Linked DNA regions of Homo sapiens: region 2 is linked to region 1. Evidence: promoter capture Hi-C in 16 types of primary human blood cells and fetal thymus (Javierre and others, 2016). All regions are on one chromosome and are shown on one strand. The core of a region is centred on a gene start or on the middle of the fragment in contact, and the rest is flanking DNA. Distances in the headings are between cores, read along the strand shown.

Region 1 (7,324 bases), core at 1-2,500:
ATTTTTTTGGAGGCAGCCCTAACTCCACAGATGTATTCCACTATCAGATACACCAGATGTTTATACAAAAATGTTTTCGTGATATTTTAATCGTCTTAATAGCCTTTCAACAGGTTCTCATGGTTCTTAGAAGACAAATTCTTTACTATGGCCTAGTAATCCAGTTGGTCCCAGCTCATTTCCCACCCTCACTTAGGATGTTCTGGCCACATCTGCCCTCTAGCTGATCCTTGAACACCCTAGGCTTACTCCATCCTCGGGTCATATTTCCCTCCAACTGGAATGCCCCTCTCACATCCTAACAGGCTAGGCTCAAACACCGCCTCCTAAGACAGCCCTTGTCTTGAGTCCTCTGCTTCTCCCAGTACTCCACTGTATTCATAGCATAGCACTTCCCCACCACCCCAAATTCTCCCTGCTTTCTTTCCAAGTGAGTTGTCTCCTCTAGACTGTGAGCTTCTTGAGAACAGGGACTGTGTCTGCTTCTAGATGCATCCCCACTGCCTAGAACCGTGTCTGACACAGAGCAAGCCAGCGACCTCCGGGCTGCGGCTTTGAGGCCCACGGCGCTTTCGGTGTAACTGCGCGAACCAACTCCTGAACAGCCCGCTTTCCTGGGTCTCGAGGCCAAGGGCCTCTTTTCTCCCAGAGGGCCTCCGTCGGGAGTGCTGGCCGCTCATCCTGCCGAGTCACAGGTGAGGTTTAGGATTCTCCGCCGCGGTGGACCTCCACGAGACCGCGAAGCAGGTGAACGTCCTCCCGCGGAACCTGAGCTGCCAAGGGCTGGGGAGGGGAACAGAAGCTGGCGTCGGCTGCCTCCAGAACCTGTCAGGAGTCTTTTATGTGGACTATGGAGGTGAGGTGTCGGTCAAGGAGGTGGGCCCTGACTCGGAGCAGTGAGAGAGAGCAGAAAACCAGTCACCGCAAAACGGCTTCCAAAGAACCAACTGGAAAACTCACCGGAAAGCGTAGGCTGCCCAGACGCCCCGAGGGACCAAAGCTGAAGGGAGGAGCCCTCGTAAGCAGACAAGAGTGCGCGCGTCGAGCTTGCGCAGCCGCAGTAGAAGCCGCACGCTCTTCGGCAGGCTGCGCAACCGCAGTGGAGGCCTCGTGTGCCCGGGGTGGGGCACGAAACTGGGCGGAGCTAGGCCCCCTCGCGCGCTGACGCGACTGGTCGCGGCGGAAGGGTGTAAGCACGCAGGCGCGATGGTGGCTCGGGGGGGCAGGGAGGCGGGGCCGCGCAGGCGCTGTGAGAGGCGGTAGCGGCGGCGGCGGCGGTGGTATCGGCGGCAGCTGTGAGGGGGTTCCGGGAAGATGGTGCTGATCAAGGAATTGTGAGTGGGTCTGTGGGCGCGAGCGAGGCCGTGGGACGGCAGTGATGGGAGATTTGTTGATGGAGAAGTGGTAGGATATTCCTAAATCGGAGTCAGCCCTGTGTCAGCCCCTCCCTGCGGGCGCCCCCTCCCTCCCCCGGCCCCTTCGAAGCCCCTCAGCGAGTGCGCCCCTCGGCCCTCCAGGCATTGCCGTGGTAACACGCCCTCTCCCTTCCCCGGGGCGAAGGCGGCTGGGTCCCGGCCCGAGCGCATGGCTCGGGAAGGCGCGGCCGGGAGTTTCCGCTGGGACCCGCCTTCTCCCCAACCCCCCACCCCCAGGCTGGGTCTGGGCCCACCCCCAGGCCCGCCGGTGGGAAGGAGCCGCAGTCCGAGGGTGGGAGAGACACGTTGGTTCTGACTGTGATTTGTCGTCCGGGGTGGAGTCCCCTGGTAACCAGCGGGAGATGGGCTTGCCGGTTGAAGGCAGCCCTCGTGTCAGGACTCGCGGTGGGACGCTGGCGCCTTGAAGTTCGTGGTGGAGCCGGGATTCCGGAAAGCCTCCGCTCTCCTGGGCAGCTCCGCTGACTTGACGGGAGAGCCTTTTCTCTTTTTGGTTTCCGCATGTTTTAAGATGAGGTGACATCCCGGGCCCCACCTACTTTCTTAGAAGTTAACACGTGCTCTGTCAAATGGAGGGATTTCGAGGTGCATCCGACTGGCCAAGTGATTTTGTTGAAAAGTCACGGCTTTTCCTACTGGCAAGGACTGTAAACATTACGGAAATCTGCTTGCCTCTGAATGTTCGTCTGTCACAGCTGGTTCGTGTCGTCAGCATCCTTTGGGCAGCTAGGGAGGTCGAGTATGGCCCATTCGTTGGTTTTCAAATTCTTCATTTTAAATTCTTAGAAATATTTTTGGCTTAATTTAGCTTTTTTCAGACACCTTATTTTTAGTGTTCTTAAACCTCCTTTAAAAAGTCACTGATGCACTTCTCTGAGACTTAATACCTCCCAAAGACTCCCTGTCTCACCCAGAATAAAAGTCAAAGCCTCTGCAACAGCTACAAGGCTTTACACTTTTTTTTCCTGCCCTGATCTCATTTACTACCTTTTCCTTGCCCATTCCATCTTCGCAAGCTTCCTTGCTGTTCCTCTGCTACTCTAGAATAAGTTCAGTTCAAGACCTTTCCACCTGCTTTTGTTCCCTTTGCTTGAAGTGTTCTTCCCTTGGCACACTAACTCACCTTCTTCCAGGTCTTTGCTCAGACGTCACCTTCTCAGGGAATCCCTTTCTGAAGACCTAATTGTAGTTCCCACTATTTGGGGTGGTATTTGTCTTCCCTGCTTTATCGGTCTCCATAGTACTTATCACCATCCAACATGCCAATACAATTTATTATTATTATTTTTCTCCTACTAGTTGTGTTCTCTTTTTACATGTAAGGGCCATGAGTTTGTTTTGCTCACTCTCATATCCCCAGTTTTTAGAATAGTCCCTCGCATGTAATAGGTGCTCAGTAAATATTTGTTAATGAATTGATGAAAAATGATAACTTTGGTCAGTGACAGGGATTTTGAGAAGAGACATTTTGCCTTTTTTTGGTAGAGTGAAAATTCTCAATTAAAGCTTATTTATAGTACTGAATATTGGGTTTATATAAAACTTTTCTTCCAAGTCGTTTATACAGTGTATCAAACAAGTGTTCATTACTCTGACTTCTAGATGATGTGGGTAGATGGGTGGCAGACACTAAAACAAATGGAGAAAATAAGAAGGAAATTGACTTGGACCAAGTTACACAGCAAGTGAGTTGCAGAACTGATTTTAAATAGATCCAGTCATTTTTCTTTCATTGGAGTATTTCCTCCCTCCAAAAGTGTTACAGACACACAGTATTCAGTAGATCCCTTTGACAGTATGTGAGTAGTATGAAGCTAACTCTTGGAAAGCAGTTCCTATTGGGAATTTGCGCACTGTGCTTTTTGCAAACATTTGCTTTCATTATGAAGATTTAAATGTACCCAGATAATGAATGTTGACACGTGCCCAAAGTCTAATTATTTTTCCCAAAGAGTTATAAATTAAGTTTCTTGATGTTAACTCTTCATGTGTATCTCCCCTAGATTTTTTTTCCTCCTAGACTTTTTGAAGGTAGAAGCTGTTTCTTAAGTAATGTCGGTATCTAGCACAGCATCTAGGCCTAACATGCTCTAAAGAATTCAGTGTTGTTCAATGAAAAATTGATACTTCTTACTCTCAAGTCAACTTTCTAAAATTCTTGTTGGTTAGGAGCAATGAATAGCTTATTCCTATGTGAAGATATTGGTAACTAAAATACTTTGGCAAATGTTTGTTGTCTTATAAAATTCTTTTTTATTTTTATGTTTTTTTTTTGAGGCGGAGTCTCTGTTGCCCAGGCTGGAGTGCAGTGGCATGATCTCTGCTCACTGCAACCTCCGCCTCCCAGGTTCAAGCGATTTTCCTGCCTCAGCCTCCCAAGTAGCTGGGACTACAGGCGCACGCCACCATGACCGGCTAAATTTTTTGTATTTTTAGTAGAGACAGGGTTTCACCCTGCTGGCCAGGCTGGTCTGGAACTCATGACCTCAGGTGATCCGCCCACTAAGTGCTGGGATTACAGGTGTGAGTCACCGCACCTGGCCCTCTATTTATTTTTTTATAAGAATTAAAATGTTAGAAATGACTTTCGAGGTGGGCTGTTTCCCTTCAAGTTATTATTTAAGCAGTAGATGAAGTTACCATTAATGTAAAGTCCTGGTTTTAAAGAACTAGTTACTGATTCCATTTGGAAATTATTTTTATGAGGATTTTCAGACATTTGAACATTTTCAACTGGCACTGAAAGTTGAATACTGCTTTTAGAATAACAACAGAAAATCAAAGCCTGTATGTTCCTTTTCCCTTTTACTTGTTAAGCAAATCTTGAAGAAGTTACTTGACTCATTGTTCTGAATGTCTTAATCAGTCACTTTAATTTTTTGAAAGAATTTCCTTGAAAGTGTTCTTAAATAAAAATAGGGATCTTCCTGTTAGTGAGTGTAAAATTACTCAGCAGTGATTCTTTGGTTTTGTGAAACTTAAGGGAAGACTAACTCTTCTTTCTCTATCCCTTCCTTCCATTCCCTCTGCAGTCCATCATCTTGGTTCAGGCCTTTGTGACAGTTCTTGCCTAGCCTCCCAAAAGATAGCTTTCCCCACTTCTCCTGCTTGTCAGTGTTTTCAACCACCTGCAGATGACTTCTTCAGGTCAGCAGTAGTTGTCACTTACCTCTTGGACCAACCTTTTGGGATTCCTTATTGCCTGATGAATTTAATGGATTTCTTACCATAGTATTCCAGGTCCTGATAATCTGCTCCCAACCTATAGCTTTCTAGTCTTCCTCTCCCTCATTTTATGCTCTGGGACAGTGAGCAAGTTAGTGTATACTGAGAAGAGAAATGATTCGGAATTTTTAGGTATAGAAGGACTTACAAAAAGTTTATTCTTGATGGAGAGTAGAAATTAGTGACCATTGTGGATTTGAGAGTGTTCATTGTTTTTGAATCACCGTTACCAGAAAGACAAAGAGTGGCGAGTAACTCAGTAGTCAAAGGGGAGGGAGTAACAGACTTGTGCATGTTGGAGATTGAGGTAATGTGAACATTCAGACATAGATGTTTGAGGAGAGTAGGGAGAAAGGAGTAGATGGAAAGTGTAGCTGGAATGCAAACTAGATATAATCTGGGTTTTATTACTCTCTTCATACTTACGAATAAGAAAGACTATTAAAAAAGAATGCCTAGGCCAAAAAGATTGTCACTAATACAAACAATAAGCTAAATGACTCTTACTGCAAGAAAAAAAGAAAAAGAAATTATAAGCTGAAAAGAAATTGGAATGAGGAAAACTATTGAAAATTTTCCATAAAATGACAGATAAGATTAGGAAAGTATGAGAAGGATCGTATACCCCCATCCCACAAAAAAGGAAGTTGCTGTCTTGGAACCAACTATAATTATGAGACCATTGATATACAGGGATGTTCTTGGTTTTCAGGATTTATGGTGGAAATAAATTAAGGACTCTCCTTATAAAATCTAGAGATAAGATGCAATATTTTGATAAAACAATATACCATGATACTGTTTTGGATTTTATCTTTTAAGACTGCTTGCAATGGAGCTATAATGACATCTTTTTGGTATATACAATAAGAAACTCTTGGACAGGATGAAACACATGTCAACCTTATATTGTATATATGCTGGAAGGGATTATTATAAGGTTCAAGTAGTTTCCATAGTAAAATTTTTCTTACTAATTCTACACGACTCCTTATTTTTCTCTTAGTAAACTTGAGGAATAATTGAATAGTGGGGGAACAGTTTCTGGAAGCGTTTATTCAATGAGATTCAAGACACGTATTCTGTAAGAAGCATCATAAAAACAAAATGCACAGTATATAGGTGGAGAATGAAACCATACTAAAAATTTAGTCAGGGCAACCTGACCAGACAATCTGCAAATAATACGTTCTGTACCCTGCAATTTTCAATGTTGAGTTTTCTCTTTTTTCTTTACTCACAAGAATCTCTGCAGCTGCTGTTTGGGGTCCTGGGAACACTAAATGCAAATGATCATTGAGACCCAGGAATGATAGTTTTAGTTCCCCAATTATGGTGTAGGCATTGCAAAGACCCTCTTCCATAAATGACACCCTTGTATTTTTTTGATTTAAGAGACCTGTCTCTGTTATCATTGGATTTAAGGTAAAACCTCTTCAGAGATCTGTGTTTAAAGCTATTTCATATGTAATATATATATTTTTTCTTTTGTCTTTTTAGCCGTGTGGTTTTGCCATGTTCTGTTCAGGAGGTGAGTTTTTCTTGCTTCTGCATCATTTTATTGGTATATGTACTGTACTTTGATATGTTACTCTAAACTCACATTTTCGTAGTATTGATTTACCTTTTCATTCCACCTTATGTGACAAAATTAATTATATGAATGATAATTGCAAAGAATTGCAAAATGAATTAAATGAATGATAATGAATTTCTTGCTACACTGCCTTGTTTTGGAAGAGTCTAAAGAATGTAGTTTAACCTCCTGTCTAGTGCAGGAATTCTTTCTCCAACATCCCAGAGAAATGAGGCTCCAGCCTCAACTTAAGTACTTTAAGGTTAAGTAGCTTGCTGCTTAGAGAAGCAGCCTACTTTACTGTTGGACATTTTAAACATTTGTGTTTGAACCAAAATCTGCTTTTCCTATAATGCTTGACTCTTGTTTACAGTTTATCCCATTTGAGCAATGGGAAATAAGCCTGTTCTGTCTTGTAGTGGTTAATCCTTCAGGTTTTCTGATGGCAGCTCTCCCCTCCAGCCAACCCCATCCCCCACAAGCACTTTTATTTCATCTTAGAAAGTCTCAAGGTTAAACATTCCCAGCACATTCACTTGGCTTAATACAGCATGATATGTGGACTTGCTACCAGCTGGTCCTGTTACTATATGTGTTGTAATTGTTGATCTGAACTGAAAACAGTATTCCAGACATGGTATGAACAGCACACAACTGTAAGAGCTTATTGTTTTCCTCAGTCTGGACATGATACAGAAATATATCACCTATTCAGAACTTGCATGTCCTGCAGTTATAGCCATGTGTATTGTAGACAAGAATGAAGATAAGAGCAGAAACAGCTTCTGAGAAATCAAGATATATATAGCAAAACCCATAAAACCCTCTAGGCTCTTCTGTAACTTGCACACAGTTCCCATTTGCTCAGTTATCTGGTTTTCCTAGAGCTGACAGTAGATTAGAAGCAGTGACTTGGAAGTGGGACAAAACAAACTGATAACCTAAGAAGTGACAGCTGACAGAAGACAGAAAGAAATGCAGGAAGTGAAAAAGAGTAGCTGTCTGGCACTGTTTAGTGTAGACTTGAACACAGTTGTTTATATCTCAGGAGGATTCACTGTATTAAAACACTCCAGAGAAGCTAGGCACC
Region 2 (6,985 bases), core at 74-2,573, 1.2 Mb after region 1:
TTATTCCGTACATCATTCATATATCAAGATTCCCGTTTTCCTTATGAAACTGTGAGGCTGGTGAGAAAGCTGCCACAGCTGTCCAAAACAGAAGGCTGGTGGTTTGGACTGGGGCAATGTCAGGGGGATAGAATAAAGTGAGAAGAGATATTTAGGGCCGAATGTGGTGGCTCATGCCTATAATCCCAGCACTTTGGGAGGCAGAGGCGGGCATATCACTTGAGGTCAGGAGTTCGAGACAAGCCCAGCCAACATGGTGAAACCCTGTCTCTACTAAAAACACAAAAATTAGCCAGGCGTAGTGGCGGGAGGCAGGAGAATCGGTTGAACCCAGGGGGCGGAGATTGCAGTGAGCCGAGATGGTGCCACTGCACTCCAGCCTGGGCGACAGAGTGAAACTCTGTCTCAAAAGAAAAAAAAAAGAAGGCCAGGCGCGGTGGCTCACGCCTGTAATCCCAGCACTTTGGGAGGCTGAGGCAGGCGGATCATGAGGTCAGGAGATCGAGACCATCCTGGCTAACACGGTGAAACCCCGTCTCTTCTAAAAATACAAAAAATTAGCTGGGCGTGGTGCCGGGTACCTGTAGTCCCAGCTACTCGGGAGGCTGAGGCAGGAGAATGGCATGAACCCGGGAGGCAGAGCTTGCAGCGAGCCGAGATAGAGATAGCGCCACTGCAGTCAGGCCTGGGCGAAAGAGCAAGACTCCTTCTTAAAAAAAAAAGAAAAGAAAAAAGAGAGAGATTTAGGCGGTAAGATGACAGGACTTCGACAATGGCTGTGACAGAGATTGAGGAAGGAAAGAAAAATGACTGTCAGGTTTCTTTTTCAAGCAACCGGAGAGACTGGGGCTCTTTCCTGAGATGGAAAATGCTGGAAGGGACTAGGATTTGGGGAAAAAAGATCCTGAGATCAGCTGAGACAGAAACAAAGTTGTTTCTTAAAAGGAACTGTATCCTTGTTTATTGCTGCATAATGAACCTCTCCAAGACCTAGAGGCTTAAAACTACCATCATTTTGCTCAGTAACCTGCAATTGGAGCATGGCTTGGTGTGGACAGTTTGTCTCTGCTCCATGCAGTATCCACTGCAGTGACTCAATTAGAGCTGGATGACCCACCTTCAAAATGGTTCATCCATAGGATTGCCAGGAGCTCAGCCAAGGCTGTGGGTGAGAGCCTTGGTTCCTCTCCACGTGAGCCTCTTGAAGCTGCTTGGGCTTCCTCACACCATGGTGGCTGGGTTCCAAGAGTGAGTATTGCCCTCCCGCGTTTTATGAACTAGCTTTGGAAGTCACATGGCATCACTTCCACCAAAGTCACAAACCACCCAGAGTCAAGGGGAGAAGGGTCAAAGTCACATTATAAGAGGCGCACGTGGGATGGGAGATATTGTTACAGCCATTTTTGTAACAATAATAATTTCTGTTTATGGCACCAGGAACATGGGGGCCTTTCACCCTTGTGACCATCCTAGAAAGAAGATCCTAGTGTTACCCCCATTTTATAAATGGGGATACAGAGGCTCAGAGAGCTGACGTGACTTGTCCAAGGTGACACAGTATGGGAATCCAGACTTGACACTGGACCTGTCCCACCTCCAGTTGGCTCAGACAAGAGCCAGCTTCATTTTTCTCTGTACTTCAGTGCCCAGTACAGGGTCTGGCCCCAGATCCAGGGGTGCAGGTGCTGGGCGAGAGGCTGAAATCAAAGACCGTGAGAGTCCACGGGGCCTCCGTCATTCCAGCCTGAGAACCTGGGAAAGCGTAAAGGCGGTTGAGGCCTGACCCCACTGCCAGAAGGTGATGTCTGGTATGAGCTCCCCGGTGGCCTGGCGTCCCTGAGATGGCTGGGAAAATGCCCCCTCAGCCCTGTGCCTCCAAGATGTTCTCTTTCCTGGGGCCTGGGCTGGAGGCTCTGGCACATTCCTTACATTCCAGAGCTTTCCTCTGGGAGGAAGCCTCCTTCACACAGGAGAGGCCTCTTGAGTGAAGATTAGGAAATCGCTAGTGTTTCAGGCTGAACAGCACCAGCTCCCCACAGCGGTCTCTGTCCCCCTGGCTACATGGCTACGCCGCTGTTGTGGGTGCTTTGCAGGGGAGGATCTGTTTATAGGCCATGGGCCAGGCAAGAGATGACTGTAGGGACTGGGCCGCCATGACTGTGGCTTCTTGAGTGCTCACCACAGGCAGGCTCAGAGGATAAAGAGGCCAGAGCTGCCGGCCAGCTTGCTCCATGACTTGGTCCTGTTGCTCCCCGGTCTAATCCTCAGGCCACTCTGTCTTCCCCCAACCCTGTTGGCCTGCCATACCTGCCCAAGGCCAAGAGAAACCATCAACACATGAAACAGGAATTGAGAGCCCATCACATGCAGACACGTTGCATATGCTCTCTTGCCAAATCCGGGTAGCTTCATTGAAAGGGACACAGTTGGGCCGGGCGCGATGGCTCATGCCTGTAATCCCAGCACTTTGGGAGGCCAAGGTGGGCGGATCACCTCAGATTGGTATTTCGAAACCAGCCTCACCAACATGGAGAAACCCCATCTCTACTAAAAATACAAAATTAGACGGGCATGGTGGCACACACCTGTAATCCCAGCTACTCGGGAGGCTGAGGCAGGAGAATCACTTGAACCCAGGAGGTGCAGGTTGCGGTGAGCTGAGATCGCACCATTGCACTCCAGCCTGGACAACAGAGTGAAACTCCGTCTCAAAAAAAAAAAAAGAAAAGAAAAAGAAAAAGAAAGGAACACAGTTATTCCCATTTTACAGATGGAGAAACTGAGGCTCAAACAGGGGAAGTCATCAGCCCTAAGTCACATAACCAGTAAGGGGTGGATCTGGCTACTCCCTAATTTGCCTGGACACCACCCACTAGAAAAGCCCAACTGACTCTTGTTTCATTCATTCAGTAAAATGTTGTTGACTCCCAACTCTGTGCCAAGTGCAGTACTGGGTACCCAGGGTACAGCTGTGAAGCAGGCTGCATTGCCCCTGCCCTTGTGGTGCTCACAGTCAGGGGAGCAGTCAATGAGCCAATAAATATGAAATCACAAACTGTGCTCAGATCCCCGAGGGCAATGAACACCCTGCAGGGAGAAGGAGTGACAGGAGAGAAACCAGCATAGAAAGAGTAACTGGGTTCGATCCCACAAGACGGAGTCAGCATTTTGGGGTGATGCGGCCCCATGGGTGTGGTGACCACCTTGAATCCAGGTTTCTCCATCCTCCAACCATGTGTCTTTGGGTGAGTTTCTTCACCTCTCTAAGCTTCAGTGCCTCCTCCTATAAAATGGGGGTGGTAATGAAACTCGTAAACTATTTCTGAGCACTTCATACATCAATGTGTCCAAACCATTCAGCACAGAGCCTGCATGGAGCAAACACTCGGAAAACAGTACCGGCCACTTTAACTCAATCCAGGTGAATGAAGGTGTGTTTGGAGGTGGAGAGAGAAGGAACAGTTTTGCCTGCAGGAAGAGCTCACAGCATCAGCGAGTTCTTGGAATAGTCTAGGCCTCAGAGGTCGATGGTTGGGGGATCCTGCATTGCTGAAAACACCAGTGTTATCAAAATAGTGAACCCTGCTGAGAGTGGCAGGATGGAATGGAAGCCAAAGGCGTACTTTGCCCATTTGGTGGAGGAGTAAGCTGAGGCTTAGAGAGGGGAAGTCACTTGGCTTGGCCTCTGTTAGGAAAAGGAGCCCTCGGCTGGGCAAGGTGGCTCACTCCCAGCACTTTGGGAGGCCGAGGCGGGTGGATCACAAGGTCAGGAGTTCAAGACCAGCCTGACCAAGATGGTGAAACCCCGACTCTACTAAAAATACAGAAATTAGCCAGGTGCAGTGGCAGGCGCCTGTAACCCCTGCTACTAGGGAGGCTGAGGCAAGAGAATCGCTTGAACCTGGGAGGCAGAGGTTGCAGTAAGCCGAGATCGCGTCACTGCACTCCAGCCTGGCGATAGAGTGAGACTCCATAAAAAAAAAAAGGAAAAAAAAGAAAAGAAGGAAGGAAGGAAGGGAGGAAGGGAGGGAAGGAGGGAGGAAGGGAAGGAGGGAGGGAGGGAAGGAGGGAGGGAGAGAGAGAGAGAAAAGAAAAGGAGCCCTCCGCAAAAATGAAGAGTGGTTTTCCAGAGTTTCTGTCCTCAGCTGCATTCTCTCCAGTCCCTATCCTTGTCCCACCCATGCCAAGTCCTACTCAATGCCCTAAAACTCTGTGATTTCCAGAGTATCCCGTAGAGCATCCAGCCCCAAATGCCCCTGAGAGGAACTGAGTTTCCAATAATAAGCAGTGAGGGTTTGGTGCAACACCACCATCTCCTGGTCGCTCCTGTGAACTACAGCTCTGGCTGGGCCACAGAGCACCTACAAAGCGGACTGGACTCCCAGGAGCTACACGACACTGACATGCAACAGACTAAATGCAGAGGCAGATATCAGAATGCAACACAATCTGTCTTCTATTAGGCCAGACATTAAAGAGATTTACCCTAAGAAAGTAAAATAATGCTGTCTTCTCACTAAATTTATTTTGCTTTGGAAAATACGGTTATTCATAATAAAGCATGTGTTATTTTTGTTAATATGCGATGGGTTTATTATTGTTATTGTGATTTTTCCATGAATAAACAAGTCTTTTTAAAACGTCTCTGTTTTAATTTACAACATGGCAGAGTCTCTACAATGGTTTCCTTCTGTCCCTGTCCCCCATCCAAATCTAGTTTCCATTCACTGCCTCTCCTGGGCTTTGCACTCTGCAGGGGTGATGCCTGTCTGCTGTGCCCTGGGCACCCAGCATTGTATTTGACACACAGTAGGACTCAACAACATTTTGCTGAATGAATGAAACAGGGGCCAGTTGAGCCTTGTGAGTGGCCAGCATCCACAATGCCTTTGAAAAAACACCTGCAACTGGGCCTGGCTGCCCAGAACACTTTTCTGAGAAAAAGGCTGAAAATGCACCCAAGTTCCCAAAGATAGGCAGGCAATCAGCTAGCACTGTGCGTCATATGGCAAGAGTGTAAAGAGCCTGAAGCCAAAATGTTTGAGAACTGCAGTGATAGAGTACTGTGGACAGGGTGGTCAGGGGAGGCTTCTCTGAACAAGTGATGTTCAGCTGAGCGCCAACAAGAAGTCAGCCACGTGAAAACCAGAGGGACATACATTCTAAGTGACGGGAAAAGCCAGTGCAAAAGTAGGTACCCAGGCGAGAGCAAATAGGTGCACTGGTAACAGAAAGGCCAGCAACCTGGCATCCCAGAGGCTAGGGCAGTGCCCACTATAAAAGAAGGACTCAGTAAACAGCTGCTGGGTGAATAGAGGGAGGGAGAGGAGGAAGAGAAAGGAGGACTGGGAGGAAGCTCTCTTCTCATTAGGGGTCTTGTAGTCCTTTGAGGGCAGGGGGGCTCACAAGTTCTGCCAGCCGTGGGAGATTCCCAACTCTTCTTACCACGCCTTGAACACTGCTGCACAGACCAGCCTCCACTTCTTAGCTCAATCTGTAACCTCCTCTGAAGTGTCCACCCTGCCCCCACCCCAATATCCTATCAATATCCTCATCTCCTACCGAACCAGTCCAATGAATCTTGGAGAAGCCATCCTGAAATGCCCTGCACCATCACTATTTTCTCCTGATTTATTGACTATTCCCCATCCTTCAAGGTTCCCCTCAAGTTTTGATTCTCCCAGAAAGCCATCCCTTACTGCCCCCACCCTCACCCCACCTCCTCCTGACCTTCTTTCCAACAGAGCACCTCTGGCCCCCAATCTCATCATCTGGTGCTAACACAGAATGAGGTTTCAGGGAACACTTGCAGGGCATCAAGCGCTGTCTTAGCTCTGCAAGAACGCTTGGGAACCTTCACAATGGCCCTATGAGGTGGGAGTGGTCTCCCCATTCTACAGAGCCGATGGAGGCTCAGGGAAGGGCAATCATCCCCAAGATCTAACAGCAGGTGTGTGGCAAAGCTGGGATTCAAACTGAGGATTATCAGTAGTCTCAATCCTAAGACTGACTCCAAAGTTCTTTTAAAACTTGGCTACCCAGAACACTGTTCTGAGAAAGAGCCTGAAAATGCACCCAAGTTCCCAAAGAGAGATAGGCAATCAACTTGCAATGTCTGTCAAGGATGCTGAAGGGAAGAGTGGCGATGTGTGTGGCTTATATTTGCCAGTCCTTCACGATCACACACTAAACTCTATCTTTTTCTCTGTCACCAAGGAACTCTTTGACTCCCCAGTGAAGTATAAGATCCCTGGCAGGCCATGCGCGGTGGCTCAAGCCTGTAAACCCAGCACTTTGGGAGGCCGAGGCGGGCAGATCACGAGGTCAGGAGATCGAGACCATCCTGGCTAACACGGTGAAACCCCGTCTCTACTAAAAATACAAAAAATTAGCCGGGCGTGGTGGTGGGTGCCTGTAGTCCCAGCTACTCAGGAGGCTGAGGCAGGAGAATGGCGTGAACCCAGGAGGCAGAGCTTACAGTGAGCCGAGACCGCGCCACTGCACCCCAGTCTGGGCAACAGAGCAAGACTCCATCTCAAAAAAAAAATAATAATAAAATAAACAAATTCCCTGGCAATAAGAACCTGGATTTCTGGAAGCACTGCCCTAGGCATAAAGAAGTGTTATTTTTTAAAAATACCACCAGGCACAGTGGTGCACGCCTGCAGTCCCAGCTACTCAAGAGGCTGAAGCAAGAGGATCGCTTGAGACCAGGAGATCAAAGCCAGCCTGGGCAACATAGCAAGACCTCATCTCTAAAAAAAAGAAAAGAAAAATAAATACCAATGGTGATAATGGTTGCACAACAATGTGAATGATACCACCAAGATGTTCACTTAGAAATTATTATGGTGGTGAAGTTTTATGTTATGATTATTTTACCAAAATTAAAAAATAAAATACCCTATTATATTGACTTCTAGGGTCACTCTTGAGGAAAGGCTGACTCACCGAGAGAGCCCACCCCTGCTCCTTGAGAATGCCA

Evidence for each region. Contacts are between HindIII fragments. The CHiCAGO score rates a contact against its expected background, and 5 or more counts as called.
Region 2: a fragment that was not itself captured here is called in contact with the fragment with the promoter of PITPNB in region 1 in 2 of 17 cell types (naive CD8 T cells and non-activated CD4 T cells); the score reaches 5.7 in naive CD8 T cells.

Annotation. Positions count from the first base shown.
Region 1 is chr22:27,913,182-27,920,505 of GRCh38, reverse strand. It overlaps PITPNB (phosphatidylinositol transfer protein beta), which reads left to right and starts at 1,250. Exons shown (of 12, transcript NM_012399.5): 1 at 1,250-1,334; 2 at 6,159-6,189. The coding sequence starts at 1,315. TTC28-AS1 (TTC28 antisense RNA 1) reads right to left here and starts at 1,130. Exons shown (of 5, transcript NR_026963.1): 1 at 961-1,130. RefSeq lists enhancers at 730-909, 80-1,064, 1,065-2,050 and silencers at 1,220-1,289, 1,480-1,799. The HindIII fragment of the contact is 2,643 bases long and covers 1-2,451 here.
Region 2 is chr22:26,676,538-26,683,522 of GRCh38, reverse strand. The region is part of intron 1 of MIATNB (MIAT neighbor); the gene reads right to left. Among named protein-coding and RNA genes, the nearest start is that of MIATNB, 7.2 kb to the right of the region's middle. RefSeq lists enhancers at 1,131-1,954, 1,955-2,779. The HindIII fragment of the contact is 3,895 bases long and covers 1-3,270 here.